Linked DNA regions of Homo sapiens: regions 1, 2 and 3 are each linked to region 4. Evidence: promoter capture Hi-C in 16 types of primary human blood cells and fetal thymus (Javierre and others, 2016). All regions are on one chromosome and are shown on one strand. Each heading gives the region's core, a stretch centred on a gene start or on the middle of the fragment in contact. The rest is flanking DNA. Distances are from core to core; before and after follow the strand shown.

Region 1 (3,216 bases), core at 94-2,593, 1.2 Mb after region 4:
AGAAAAGAAACTCAGATTTTCAAAGTCTTCTCTTCAGCAAATGAAGTTGGAAGCATCTTTGTGTCTTTCGGTGAAGTCACCTGGAGACCCATGGGTCAAGTCTCTGTCAAGTTACTGATAGGGGTGAGGGCACTGTGAGAAGACAGCACAGTCAGCACATTCAATCCACAGGCTACCAGAGGACACAGACCCATGAGTCCTGAACAGACTGGTGGCTCTGAGTTTCAGGACATCATTTTTTTTTTTTCCAAGAAAAAACTAAACATGAAGATCCTGGCAGCCGTGCACATTCTACCATAGCCTGTCTCCAACTCCAGCAGACAAGCCAACCCATTCTTTCTCCACCTCACCCTCTACATATCCTTTCTTGGGAATACTCCCAAGATGCTCTCACGGATTTGCTTGGTCTTGACACCATAGATTATGGGATTGACCATGGGTGGGAAGAGCAGATAGAAATTGGCAAGGAGGATGTGGACATGAGGGGCAGCATGGCGGGCTACACGGTGCATGACTGAAGAGATGACCACAGTTGTGTAGAAGGCTAAGATGGCACCTATATGAGAGACACATGTCCCAAATGCCTTGTAGCGGGCCTCCTGAGAGGCAAGCAGTAGAACTGCCTGAAGAATAAAGATATAAGACAGGATAACAAGGAGCAGGTCCAACACCACAATAAACATGGCCACAGCGATGCCATAGATATTGTTGAAGCTAGTGTCCCCACACGCCAGCCTCACCACAGCCATGTGTTCACAGTAGCAGTGAGCGATCACTGGGCCTCGGCAGTAGTGGAAACATCTCAGCAGGAAGGGGAGTGGAGTCATTAGTGTCACAGCCCGGGCCACAGCAGCCATGCCAATCTTGGTGATGAGGGACCCAGTCAGGACCTTGGTGTAGTGCAGTGGCTTGCAGATAGCCACATAGCGGTCAAAGGCCATGGCCAGCAGCACTGCTGACTCCATGATGGAGAAGGAGTGAAGGAAGAACATCTGGGCCAGACAGGCAAAGAAGTTTATCTCCCGATCCCTGAACCAGAATATGGCAAGCATTTTGGGCAGTGCTGAGGAGGAAAGGACCAGGTCGATGGCTGCCAACATGGCCAGAAAGAGGTACATGGGTTCATGGAGGGCTGCATCAGCCTGGATGATGAGAAGGAGAGTGCAGTTTCCAAGCAGGGCCAGTGTATATGCTAAGCAGAAAGGGATGGAGATCCAGATGTGCAGGTGTTCCAGGCCTGGAATCCCCACCAACAAGAAGGCAGTTGGATGTGTTAAGGTGATATTGGAGGCTGACATGGCTCCTGGGAATTCTCTTCCTCCTTATCTGCTTCCACAGGGCCCTTCCAGAGAATATTCAATATCAGCAGAATTACAATGCTCACATTCAAACTCTGATCATTCTTGTGAGAAGATTAGTTCTTAGACCCATTTTTAGACATGAAAAGAAATGAGAAAATAATCATATGTATCATGAAATATTATGCATGATCCTTGCCCTTAAGCTGTTTATAAAAACACTGGGTGCTCAGGACATTTAATTCCAATAAAGCTAGTATTACAAAGCAGCCTTATTGAGAAATCAAGTGGAGGAAGAGCCTTTTGTGGCCTGCATGTGGCCAAAAGCAACTTTGTAAATAATACAGATTGCTGCTTAATTCAAATCATACCCACAAACATTTACCGTCACTGTCTTCCTATTGCCTTCCAATTCAAACTACACTCCCAATTATGAAAGAGTTTCTGCCCTGAAATGTCAATCTTGGTCATATGAAAAATAAATGTAGTTAGCACTTTCTAATAATTCACTTCCCTACAAGTTCTTTAGATTTTTTTTCTAGCAGGGTTTCGTAGGTCCTTGTTTGACACTCAGAAATCCCTCCAACTAAAGCCCTACCTCCAGGTAACTTGAGAACATGAGAAGCCCTTTTGTTGTTCTCTTTTGCCTAACTGTAGTTTAACCTTCATCTCTACGTGCTTCTTCCTTCCTGGACTTCATGACATTCAGAAGAAGAGATGCCCCACACTTACCTTTTTGCAAGACTGACCTATTCCCTTCACACTATTTTTCCATCTGGGATCCTTATCATTCTATCTTTTTCCACCTTCTGTTGTCATTTCCCTTGAAAACGTTTAAACATTTCCTTGCAATATTTTTGACCTGTGCCACCTTTTTTTTCAGCTCCTGCCTAAAAACTTTCTTTTGGGGATTTTGAGATCTTTTAAAACACTTAGCACAAATCTTGAAACAGTGCTCAGTAAACGTGGACACTTATGAATTGAGAAAACAAAAGACTAAGTCACTAACAATCAGAACAGTTGGAAAACGTCAAAGATGAAACTTGAGCTTCGAGAACTCTGGTTTGCTGCCTCCCAATCCAATGTCTTAAATCACTACACTCTTCTGCTTCTACCTCATTGCTTCCTAAGAAGTATAAATCCAGCATATTCAAGTTAACAGAAATATAACTCAAACTCATTATCATGATATAGGAAAAAAAATTAGAATCTAAAGACTTGGGTTTAAGTAATGATTGAGCCATCAGCCTACCAATAGAAACTAGTATTAATCACTGAAATTTTTAAAGATTTAGGTTCCTCACCTATAGATGAAGGCATAACCATATCTTCCATGACAATTTTACTGCTTCATGATGAGGAAAGATAAAATCATGAGAAGAGTCCCTGTAAACTGTAAAGCATTGTAAAACTGTTATTTGTCATTACAATATTCCCCCTCCCACACAAATCTGCCCCCTTTTTTAAAATGTTTTTCTTGACATCAGCACAATCCCGCATTCCTTGGCCTTATATCTCCCTCCATCTAACACCCGCAACTGTTTTCCTTCACAACAATGTTTGTTGAAAAAGTTGAGTAATTCATTATCTAATTCCTCATCTCTTAATTTTTAATTCCTTCCAATCTAGCTCCCATCTCCTCTACTCCCCTTATATGATCTTATCATTGCTTGTGTATTCCCCTCTCTCTCTCTTCTTTTCTCTCCTCTTTTTGTTGCCCTTTTATTCTCATACTTCTCTAGGTGCTCTCTTAGGTGGTAAAAATGCCAAGAGAAATCAATATTCAGGGAATGCTCAACTGTCTAGCTTCTACTCTGAGTTCCCAACTAGCATATCCTACTTCCCACTGGATAGTTCCACTTTAAAGTCTCAAACAAAATAGGGCCAAAACAGAAATCTGTCTCCACAAACTCTTTCC
Region 2 (3,337 bases), core at 13-2,512, 1.6 Mb after region 4:
GAGCAAGACTCTGTCTCAAACAAGTCTCCATCTTTGAAATGTTCACAGCCTAGAGGACAAAATAGAAACAACCAGTCGATTAACCAGTATTTACTAAGTGCCTACAATTTTGAAATCATTGTATTGCTTTAACAAAGGCAAGTAGGTTCAACTCAAAACTTGTTCATACGTATCTCATGCGGTTGTTAAAAGTATGTTGCTCTTGTTTTTCCAACCCGATGAAGCCTGTTCCCAAGGCAGGGACTGTCTCCTCCTACAATCTCACAAAGCCAAGCAAAGGGCTGGGCACAAAGCGGGCACTTGGCAAGTCTAATGAAAAAGAACTGTTGAGAAAGAATACGAGTTCCTGACTCTTCCCAGTCCCCATCTTGTCAGAAGATGTCTCAGCCACCCTTCTCTGATTCAGCATCTCTTCCCATGAAGGGAAAGGAACTCGAGGGTGCTGTCTGTCTGGGATCTGTTTTTTCCACGCCACACTCCTATCCTCACCCCACAAAAGAGATCAGTAAACTGACAAGTGCCTACGGAGGGTAGAGAGGCCCCCTCCTTCTTTCCTAGCTGCCCCCCGACCCTGTGCCTAAGACAGCTCACCAACCCCACGGTTTTCAAATCAAACCGTATTGTCACCTATGGGTGACTTTGGGTCAGTCGGCGACACCTCGCTCTGAGCGTCAGTTTCCTCATCTGTAATAAGCTAATCATCTCTCAGAGGCTTGCAGGGAGGAATAAAATAGTGCCTGGCAAGTGCTCGGCGTACGCAGTCACTACTCGATACGGGGTAAGTGTTATCCTTTTGAAAGGCGGCAGGATGACAAAGCCGAGGGGGCGCAGCCTGAAGGCCCGAAGGAGGTTCGGGGCAGGCTGACTGAAGACAGAAGGCCGAGCGGGCTGACAGGGCGGAAGGCCGCGGCGGGAAATGCGGGAAAGGCGGGAAGCAGCGAAGGCGGGCGGGCGGTCTGGGCATCAGCTCCGGCGGCGGCAGCCCGCATCCCCTCACCTTCCTTCTCGCCCACCTCGTCCCCCCCTCACCTCGCTTGATCACATGCATCGCAGCTAGTGGCTGAGGCTCTGAAGGATCCAAGACTGGACTGCGGCTCTAAAGCGCCGGCGGGATCGAGAAGGTGACAGAGTGGGAAGGGTTAGGTTCCAGGCGCTGCTCAGGGGAAAGAACTGGAGTTGGAGCCAGACAGCACTTTCTTCAGAGCAGAGGCGCAACAATCCAAATCCCCTTCCCGCGCCCGCCACCCGTGACGCACAAAGGGGCGCGACGGGGTTCGAATGACGTTACTCGACGCTGCGGCCCACGCCCGGGGTAGGCTTCACAGACTGACAGGCGACGTGTAGCCGCCATGTTGAGTCTGGGCAAGACCCAGAAGACTACGCCTCTCCCATGGGCCCCATTGGATATGGACATGCCCGGCGGAAATGCTGCTCTCCTGCTACCATGTTTTGTGTGGGCAAGCCGAGTTCGGGACCCTCGGGGCCCTGGCGTAGCACCTAGAGCCCGCTGGGTCAGGCGCCGCCCTCTCACCTGCGCGTCTCCGCCGGAGGAAAGGCGGTTAATTTATTTTTGAAATAACAAAACCTAACCGGCGGGAACGTTTTTCTTGCTCTGACATTTATTATAATAATACTAACACTGCCGTCCGCTGTGGGCTCCAGCCCAGGCTCCACAGCCGTGGGCAGCTTGGAGCCCCAGGGCTTTTAGATCGGCCAGAGGACTGACACTCTGGAACTGGAAGAAAACCGCGCAAGGCCGATGGCGTTTGGATTTTATCCTGACGCAAATCAGAGCCCTGAGAGAATTTTAAGCAGGGCAGGGTCAGTACCCATTTGCTTTTAGGGTTCTTCAGTGGATGGTGGCAGAGACAGGGTATTTGCCTTGTGGAGGTAGGATGGACTTGGTGACTTAGAGTGGAGAATAAGAATAGATGAGAACCGTAATATGTAAGGCTGGTGTAGAAGCTTCTGATTTGGGCTACCCAAAGCGATCTTTATGAAATTTCATCTGTGGCATCTTTTCCCTAAAGCCTTTTCGTTGGTTTCTCACTGCCCTCCAGAAGCTGCCCAGGCTCCCTGTGAAGTAATTTCAAAAATCATGGAAAGTCGTAAGTGAGCCTGTAATTGCAGCATTTTGGGAGGCTAAGGCGGGAGCATCATGTGAGGCCAGGTGTTGAGATAAGCCTGGGCAACATAGTGAGACCCCATTTCTACAAAAAATAGAAAAAGTAGGCCAGCGCGGTGCTTCACTCCTGTAATCCCAGCACTATGGGAGGCCAAGGCGGGCAGATCACGAGGTCAGGAGTTCGAGACCAGCCTAACCAACGTGGTGAAACCCCCCCGCTGCTAAAAATACAAAAAGTAGCCAGGCATGGTAGCACGCGCCTGTAATCCCAGCTACTCAGGAGGCTGAGGCAGAAGAATCGCTTGAACGCTGGAGGCAGAGGTTGCAGTGAGCCAAGATCGCGCCATTGCACCCTAGCCTAGGCAAGAGAGTGAGACGCCGTCTCAAAAAAAACAAAAAAAAAGAAAGAAAAATTAAATAGATATGTTTTTTAAAAGTCGTAAGTGAAGTTATAGGATAGATAGGGTCAAGTTTACCCAGACATAGGGTTTCCCAATTTAGCAAATAAAAATGTGTCCCAGATACTGCATGAGAGAAAATTATACTTTAAAAACTGTTTATCTGAAATTCACATTTAACTGGTCATCCTGCATTTATCTGGTAACCCTGCCCACAGAGCTTCTGGGCATGTGCATTCAAGTTTCATTTTCCCTGGGCAAAGGAAAGATTGTCTCTTTATCCCATCATGCCACAGCACAGAGAACACAATGAGAGTCAAAGCCAGCAGTGGTTAAAATCTCCTACATGCTTTATTGGACTTCAAAGAATTTTATGAAATAACACAGAAAACCCCATTTGAGGGTGTCCAGGGAGTACAAGGCAGTCTGCAGCCTAGCACCCTCCTAAGACCAGCCCCAGGTATACCCACCCCAGGCCCAAAATAGGATCCCAGGATAAAGGTATGGCAGGGAGTGGGGCAGAGGAAAAATACCTTTACAGCCATAGCAAAAACAGGTAAGGGAGAGAGTTGTCTAGAGGGTGGGAAGGGTGGGGGAAAGTGGTCACACAGCCGCCTTCACCTATACCATCTTCCTTAGCCACCCCTTCCCCAAACTGGTTGTGTCCTTTTTGAGCCTCTGGCCAAGGCTACAAAGTAACATGAAAATGGGATCTAACAAGGGGAATATGCAGCGTAGGCACTTGGGAAATTCAGATTACTTTTTTTCCTTTTAACCTGTTTGTCTTTTGGTTCAAAAAATGACAGCATCCTTG
Region 3 (3,215 bases), core at 292-2,791, 1.0 Mb before region 4:
CTCCAGCCTGCAAATTGGTCCAGCAGTCTACGCTACCTTATTGTTGAGTCAACTCATTCTGCTATTGTAGGCCTATGACAATCCACTGGGTTTCAATTCAGTATCCAAACTGCATAAAAACTCAAGGCACCTTTGTAAAATTAAGCCTTCTTCTTTCTGACCATGCTGTGCTACATTTCTGTGAATGAATCCTAAAGTTGATGCATGGCATAATCCATTTGGATGTCAAAAGACTAATATTACCTCAGTCTTATATTTTTGGAAAAAATTCTAACTTCCTCCAGACAAATGAATGCCTCCGACAGACTAAGGAGAAGCCCTAATAATGGCATTTTTATCTACATCCTCATCTTCAATTTTGTTGTCTGATGAGTTCAAAGCTTGTGCTCTCTTCACTTCACCTCCAGGACCTTGGTCTGGAAAGGTCCTTGAGGTCTGGAAGATTAGCAGGAGAGAGACAAAAAAAAAAAATTGCCTGGTCACACTACACAATACCAGTCTTGAATTCTCACAGACAAAAACACCTTTATTTATTTCTAAAATTCCTTCGTCGTAATTAAGAATCAGACATGTTGGAAGCTCGGCCATTCATTCAATACACACTCACAGAGTACCTATTATGTGTGATGTATTCTGACGGGCACAATGTGTAACCCACTGTGTTAGTTTCCTGTTCCTACTATAACAAATTATCACAACCTTGGTGGCTAAAAACAATGAAACAACAGATTTATCTTACAGTTCTGGAGGTCAAAGTCTAAAATTAGGACTTATGGAATTAAAAACAAGGTATTGGCAGAGCTTCGTACCTTCTAAAGACACTCGGGAAAAATTCTTTTTCTTCTTTCTTTCTTTTTTTTTTTTTTTTGCCTTTTCTGCTTCTACATTCCTAGACACATGACCCCCTTCCATCTTCAAAGCCAGCAACAAGAAGTCAAGTTTTTCAGTGCCTCATTCCAATGCTTGACCCTACTGACTCTTTCTTATAAGGACCCTTGTGATTACATTGGGCCCACTGGATAATCCAGGATAATCTCCTCGTCTCAAGATTGTGAATTTAATCACATCTGCAAAGTCCTTTTTGCCATATGGAGTAACAGTCACAGGTTCTGGGGAGTAGGAGGTGGATATCTTCAGGGGACCTTTATTTATCAGTATTAAACTCAAAGAAAGGATAACTCTCCATGAGTCGGACAGCTATAAAAGATGTGGCTAATCTTTTTTAACTTCTTTTTTATTGAAATATAACAGTTATACTAAAAAGGGTACACAGATTTTATGTGTACAGCTCAACGATCTGTGACAAAGCAAATACACTCCAGTAACCAGCATCCAGATCAAGTTACGGAGCATTGCCCACACCCTAGAACTCACCCCTCATGCCCTCCTCTAATCACTGTACCTTCTCTCCACTCTCCAAAGCAGTGTAACACAGAGATTAGCTCTGTTTTCAAACAAGCAGTTGGAATGATACAATGTGTACATTTTGTGCCTGACTTCCTTTACTCAACATTACGTTTTTAAGATTTATCCATGTTACTATGTGGAGCTGTATTAGTTTATTTTCATTGTTGTATAATGCATTATATGACCAAATGACAATTATTTATCCTTTCTGCCAACAAACATGTGTGCTGTTCCCACCTTGGGAATGTTTTAAATAGTTTTGCTATAAGCATTGTTGCATACCTTCTGGTGCACATATATACACATTTCCATTAGGCATGTGTGTATATACTAGGAGTAGGATTTCTGGGTTGTAGCATATACATTTTCAACTTCTGTAAAGAGTACCAACCAGCTTTCAAAGTGTATGTTGCAATTTATGCCTTTATCAGAAATGTATGAGAATTCCAGTTGCTTCTCATACTCACCAAGACTTAATTTTATCAGAAAGTCTTTTTAACTTTAGCCATTCTGGAGTATATAGTACTATTTCAATATGGTTTTAATATGTATTTCCTTAATTAATAATGAAGTTTTACATTTTTGTCCTTTATTGGCTATTTGAATATTCACTTTCATAAAATGCCTACTCAAGTTTTTCACCCATTTTTATCTTGTGTTGATTTTCTAGGAGTCCTTTACATATTCTGTCCACAACCCCTTTGTCAGTTATAAGAGTAGCATACATGACTTGGGCCACAAAATATGCGTATAAATTTGAAATGTAAATTTCAACTGATTTCTTACAGGTTTAGTTACCATTTCAGTTTTATAGTATAGAACTAAGCGAAACAAAGTATTTTACAAATCTGTGATAAATAATTCTTAAATAGAAAGAGTACTTTTTTATTAAAATACATCTTCTAAAGACAAGAACAGGGCAAGTTTTTTTTTAATTAGTTCCCTTATCCTTAAATGAATAAAATACCCAATGTTAAAATGTGACTGGGTTTAGTAGAGATTAAGAGCAAAAAGTAAAGGTACTGGGCTGCTTAGAAGTGCAGGGGCTTAAAACGTGTATTAATTATTGTTACAGAAGGATTTTTACAATAGAATTAACCAAATATTCAAATAAAGCTAATCTAAATTTCTTAAATCGATGATAGGAATGAATAAATTACAAGAAAATTGGTTGAAGAGTAACAAGTAAGTCATGAGCGAGGGTAAAAATAAATACATATTTATAGGACCCCAACCTCTATCAAAAGCTAATGGAAGAACTTTCTGGTATGTGAATTTAGCTCAATAAAGCTTTTTTTTTAAAAAAAAAAAAAGCTAATAAAAATGTTTCTCCCATGAGTTTGAATAAATGTACATGGTTAACTTACTTCCAATATATATTGTTTTTTCTCTTACATGTAACATTAAAGTGGTAGAAGCAGACCAGGTGCAGTGGCTCACACCTGTAATCCCAGCACTTTGGGAGGCTGAGGCAAGCAGATCACCTGAGGTCAGTCAGGAGTTCGAGACCAGCCTGACCAACATGGCAAAACCCCGTCTCTACTAAAAATCCAAAAACTAGCCAGGTGTGGTGACGGGTGCCTGTGATCCCAGCTACTTGGGAGACTGAGGCAAGAGAATTGCTTGAACCCGGGAGGCGGAGGTTGCAGTGAGCGGAGATGGCACCATTGCACTCCAGCCTGGGCAACAGAGCCAGATTCTGTCTCTAAGTAAATAAATAAATAAAAATAAAGTGGTAGAAGCAAACATAAAATTTCTTCTTCTAATTACTGAAATTTTATGAAATATGCACCTGGACCTAAGTGAAC
Region 4 (3,260 bases), core at 220-2,719:
GAATTGCTCACTCGAGGAGCTCGGCTCTTGAGACAGGAGTCTTGCCTATGCCCCTGGCCGAATAAACCCCTTCCTTCTTTACCTCGGTGTCTGAGGAGTTTTTTCTGTGGCTGGTCCTGCTACAAAGGAAGAGTAAGCTGTGGGTACTCAGAAGAACAAGTTCCCTGTGACTGGACCTTCAGAGACAAGAGACCAAAGTGGAGCTGCAGAGATGAGCAGCAGTCTGCCCGTCCTGCGGCCTCTCTCCTCGGACTAACCAGAGGGCTGCTAATTTATCAGGAAAGCTATGGACAGCATCCAAAAAGTTACCAGAAGGCAAGTAAAAGGATAACCTTCAAAAGGGCCTTACTTCTGAAGACTGAGTACCTAAGACTCCTTCGCCTCATACCCAGATCCAGATAAGGGCTCTCATCCCTGCTGAACCTCATCATGAGGTTGCTTTATGAAAAGTGAAAACAAAGCTTCATTGCACAGGCTTCTTCGGGAGAAAGGAGGAAGGAATTTGCTGCCTCTGAATAAAAGAAAATTCTGATCCACGTTGGCAAAATGGAAAAATCAAAATGACAGAATAGGAATGTGGGGTATGATAAGGTTTCTCTTCAAATAGCCTGATCAATCCTTTATTCTTTAATTCACAGTGCCCCTCCCCACTTCACTTTTCTTCTCTTCTCTTTCCTTTCTGCTTTTGCTACATGCCTAGACATGTCACAGTACCAGGCGTTATCAGTACCAACTCACATTCCTTTCCTTATTTTGGAAGAAGATTAGTTATCTAGCTCATCACACACACCCCTTCCCCATCTCCCCTCTCTCCCTCACGTGCCCACCTTATCTAAAGAAAGTTAAAATGTTTAGCCAACTGAGTCTAGTTTAGATTGTGTGGCCGACTCCAGCCAATGGGGAAAGGGCAAAGGGGTAGGATTTGCGTCAGGAATAAAAACTTTCTTCCTCCTTTGTTCTAGTGTGCTCTCATGGCGACTGGCAAAGAAGAAGCACCCCTCTGCACAGAAATAAAATTGCTTTGCTGAGAAATCCTTTGTTTGAGTGCTCGTCTCCCTTAAGATTCTGAGCTTTATTTCCAACAAGGAAGGTGATGGAGGTACCTAGATTGAAGAAATGAATGGTCCCTCTAGGAAACAAGCAAGGCTTTTTGCTTTTGCAAACCTCTCTTCTTTAAAGGTTACCCCTCTCCCAGACTCAGTGCTTTCTTCCTCTGCCATCTCAGCAGACAGTTCACAAGCTGCCTCTTTTTGTTTATGCAGAGCAGCTTCAGAACTACAAATTAAACTCACCCAGACACAATCAATCTATTCTTCTCAAAGCCTCCCATTCTATGCTCCCACAGATTGCTCCACTCACCTTCAGTCCAAAGCAGAGGAGTCTTGAATCAGGGGAGAAGAGTGAAGGCAGGGCAGGAGCCGGTGTAAACCAGATTCACTCACCAAGCCAGAGGGCTGGTCTCCACAAATGAGTTTCCCCACAGGAGCTGAGTGAGAAACGAAAGTTAAATTCTCAGAAGTGAAAGAAAACAAAGGAAGCTGAACAAGAACTTACATAACAATAAACCCTGGGGAAAGTAATGCTACATTATGTTCTAGCATCTGCTGTACTGGCAAGGCACTCAGTCACTACTTCCTTATTCTTACTGTGGTTTACTCAAGCAAGAATATTTGAATAAAAAGAATGTGAATTACAGTTATACAGCTTGCCTGAATACTTAGAATTCCAATGCAGTCCTATAATTATTAGTCGAATTTATCTTATATTTAAGACCTAAGCCAGGAAAATAAAGATCCAGAGACTTGGGACCTAGCTTCTTGAAATGCAGTCTGACGAGGAAGATACTCAGTTATAAAGCTCTACAAATTTGGGCTGACAAGATGAGTATTAGCAGCTGACATTGTGAATGGTAAAAAAATTATTTTTATAAATAAAAGGATCTTTAGTGTGAGCCCATTGAAAAAAATGTTCTCAAAATGTCATTAAATCTTAAGAGTCCATCAATTAATTATCACTTCCTGCTCCTAATCCAGACAGACCAGATGAGGATGGATTCCAGAGAGTAATAGAGGTAAAACTGTGTCAGTGTCATGTTACCCAGCCACTGAGGCAGGTGAGAACATGGAAGTTAACAGATGATGCTGTTTAATTATAATCATTCATTGAGTTACTCTCATGCCTTCATAATTTTTCCACTTTTCCCTGCTTCTCTAAGAAAAGTTTGGTCATTTTTACACAATCAATTAAAAAGCAGCACTGAAACATGTTATACGTCATGCACATACTTCTGTACCCTGTTGTCTATTGTATTCTTGTTTAACTGCATGTGCCAGATAATGCCATCAAAAACTGATGGAGGCCTGTGGTGTCTCATGCCTGTAATCCCAGCACTCTGGGAGGCCCAGGTGGGTGGATCACTTGAGTCCAGGACTTCAACACCAGCCTGGGCAACATGGTGAAATCCCATCTCTAAGAAAAATTAAAAAAAAAAAAATAGCTGGGTGTGGTGATGTGCACCTGTAGTCCCAGCTACTCAGGAAACTGAGATGGGAGGATGGCTTGAGCCCAGGAGGTGGAGGTTGCATTGAGCCAAGATTGCGTCATTGCACCATAGCACTGCAGCCTGGGTGACATAGTAAGACCCTGTCTCTACAAAAAACAAACAAACAAACACCACACAACACATACACACACACACCCAAAAAAAAAGAAAAAAAAAGGCAACTCATGGAGCTTCCATAACATGGATCCCTGACTGACACTATGGAGCATGGCCATCTTCATACTTTAATCAATGATACACATGTAGGATGACTGAGAAATCAATGTTTATTATTTCAATAATAGATATTTTGGTATTATTTGTTGCTCACAGAATAATAAGCTAATCCTGGCTATAAATTCTTTCCTACTCACTTATATCTATGAGGACCTTATTCAATCAGCTGAAAGCCAGAATAGAAGAAAAAACTGACTTCTCCCCGAGAAGAGGGAATATTACCAGCAGGCAAACCTCAGGCGTGAGCTATAACGTTGACTCCTTCTTGGATCCAGAGCCTCTTGGCCTACCTTGCAGACTTTGGATTTGCCAGTCTCCAGAATCACCTGAGACATTTCTCAAGTTTCTTTCCAAATAAATTCATAGTTTAGTGGTTCTATTGCTATGATGAACCTTGACTAAGACAGGCGTGAAATTTTCTTATTTCTTCTTGAAGATAAATAAGCAAGAGATGTAATTTTAGGTATATTCCATGTTTGAA

What was found. The method cuts DNA at HindIII sites, captures the fragments that hold promoters and counts their contacts. A CHiCAGO score of 5 or more calls a contact.
Region 1: a contact is called between the fragment with the promoter of OR52K2 here and the fragment with the promoter of TRIM22 in region 4, in 1 of 17 cell types (neutrophils). The highest score is 6.5, in neutrophils.
Region 2: the fragment with the promoter of RRM1 here is called in contact with the fragment with the promoter of TRIM22 in region 4 in 1 of 17 cell types (non-activated CD4 T cells); the score reaches 6.8 in non-activated CD4 T cells.
Region 3: a contact is called between a fragment that was not itself captured here and the fragment with the promoter of TRIM22 in region 4, in 1 of 17 cell types (activated CD4 T cells). The highest score is 5.2, in activated CD4 T cells.

The regions. Positions count from the first base shown.
Region 1 is chr11:4,447,422-4,450,637 of GRCh38, reverse strand. OR52K2 (olfactory receptor family 52 subfamily K member 2) reads right to left here and starts at 1,343. Exons shown (of 1, transcript NM_001005172.2): 1 at 277-1,343. The coding sequence starts at 1,298. The coding sequence ends at 354. The HindIII fragment of the contact is 8,565 bases long and covers 1-3,216 here.
Region 2 is chr11:4,092,724-4,096,060 of GRCh38, reverse strand. It overlaps RRM1 (ribonucleotide reductase catalytic subunit M1), which reads right to left and starts at 1,262. Exons shown (of 19, transcript NM_001033.5): 1 at 1,030-1,262. The coding sequence starts at 1,048. It overlaps STIM1 (stromal interaction molecule 1), which reads right to left. Exons shown (of 13, transcript NM_001382567.1): 13 at 2,853-3,337. RefSeq lists enhancers at 1,033-1,502, 1,563-1,632. The HindIII fragment of the contact is 7,950 bases long and covers 1-1,967 here.
Region 3 is chr11:6,700,255-6,703,469 of GRCh38, reverse strand. The region is part of intron 3 of LOC124902625 (a long non-coding RNA gene); the gene reads right to left. Among named protein-coding and RNA genes, the nearest start is that of MRPL17, 19 kb to the right of the region's middle. The HindIII fragment of the contact is 2,317 bases long and covers 383-2,699 here.
Region 4 is chr11:5,687,999-5,691,258 of GRCh38, reverse strand. It overlaps TRIM22 (tripartite motif containing 22), which reads right to left and starts at 1,469. Exons shown (of 8, transcript NM_006074.5): 1 at 1,360-1,469. LOC124902620 (a long non-coding RNA gene) reads left to right here. Exons shown (of 2, transcript XR_007062561.1): 1 at 1-581; 2 at 963-1,032. RefSeq lists enhancers at 650-749, 165-1,364, 1,336-1,675, 797-1,789. The HindIII fragment of the contact is 4,665 bases long and covers 464-3,260 here.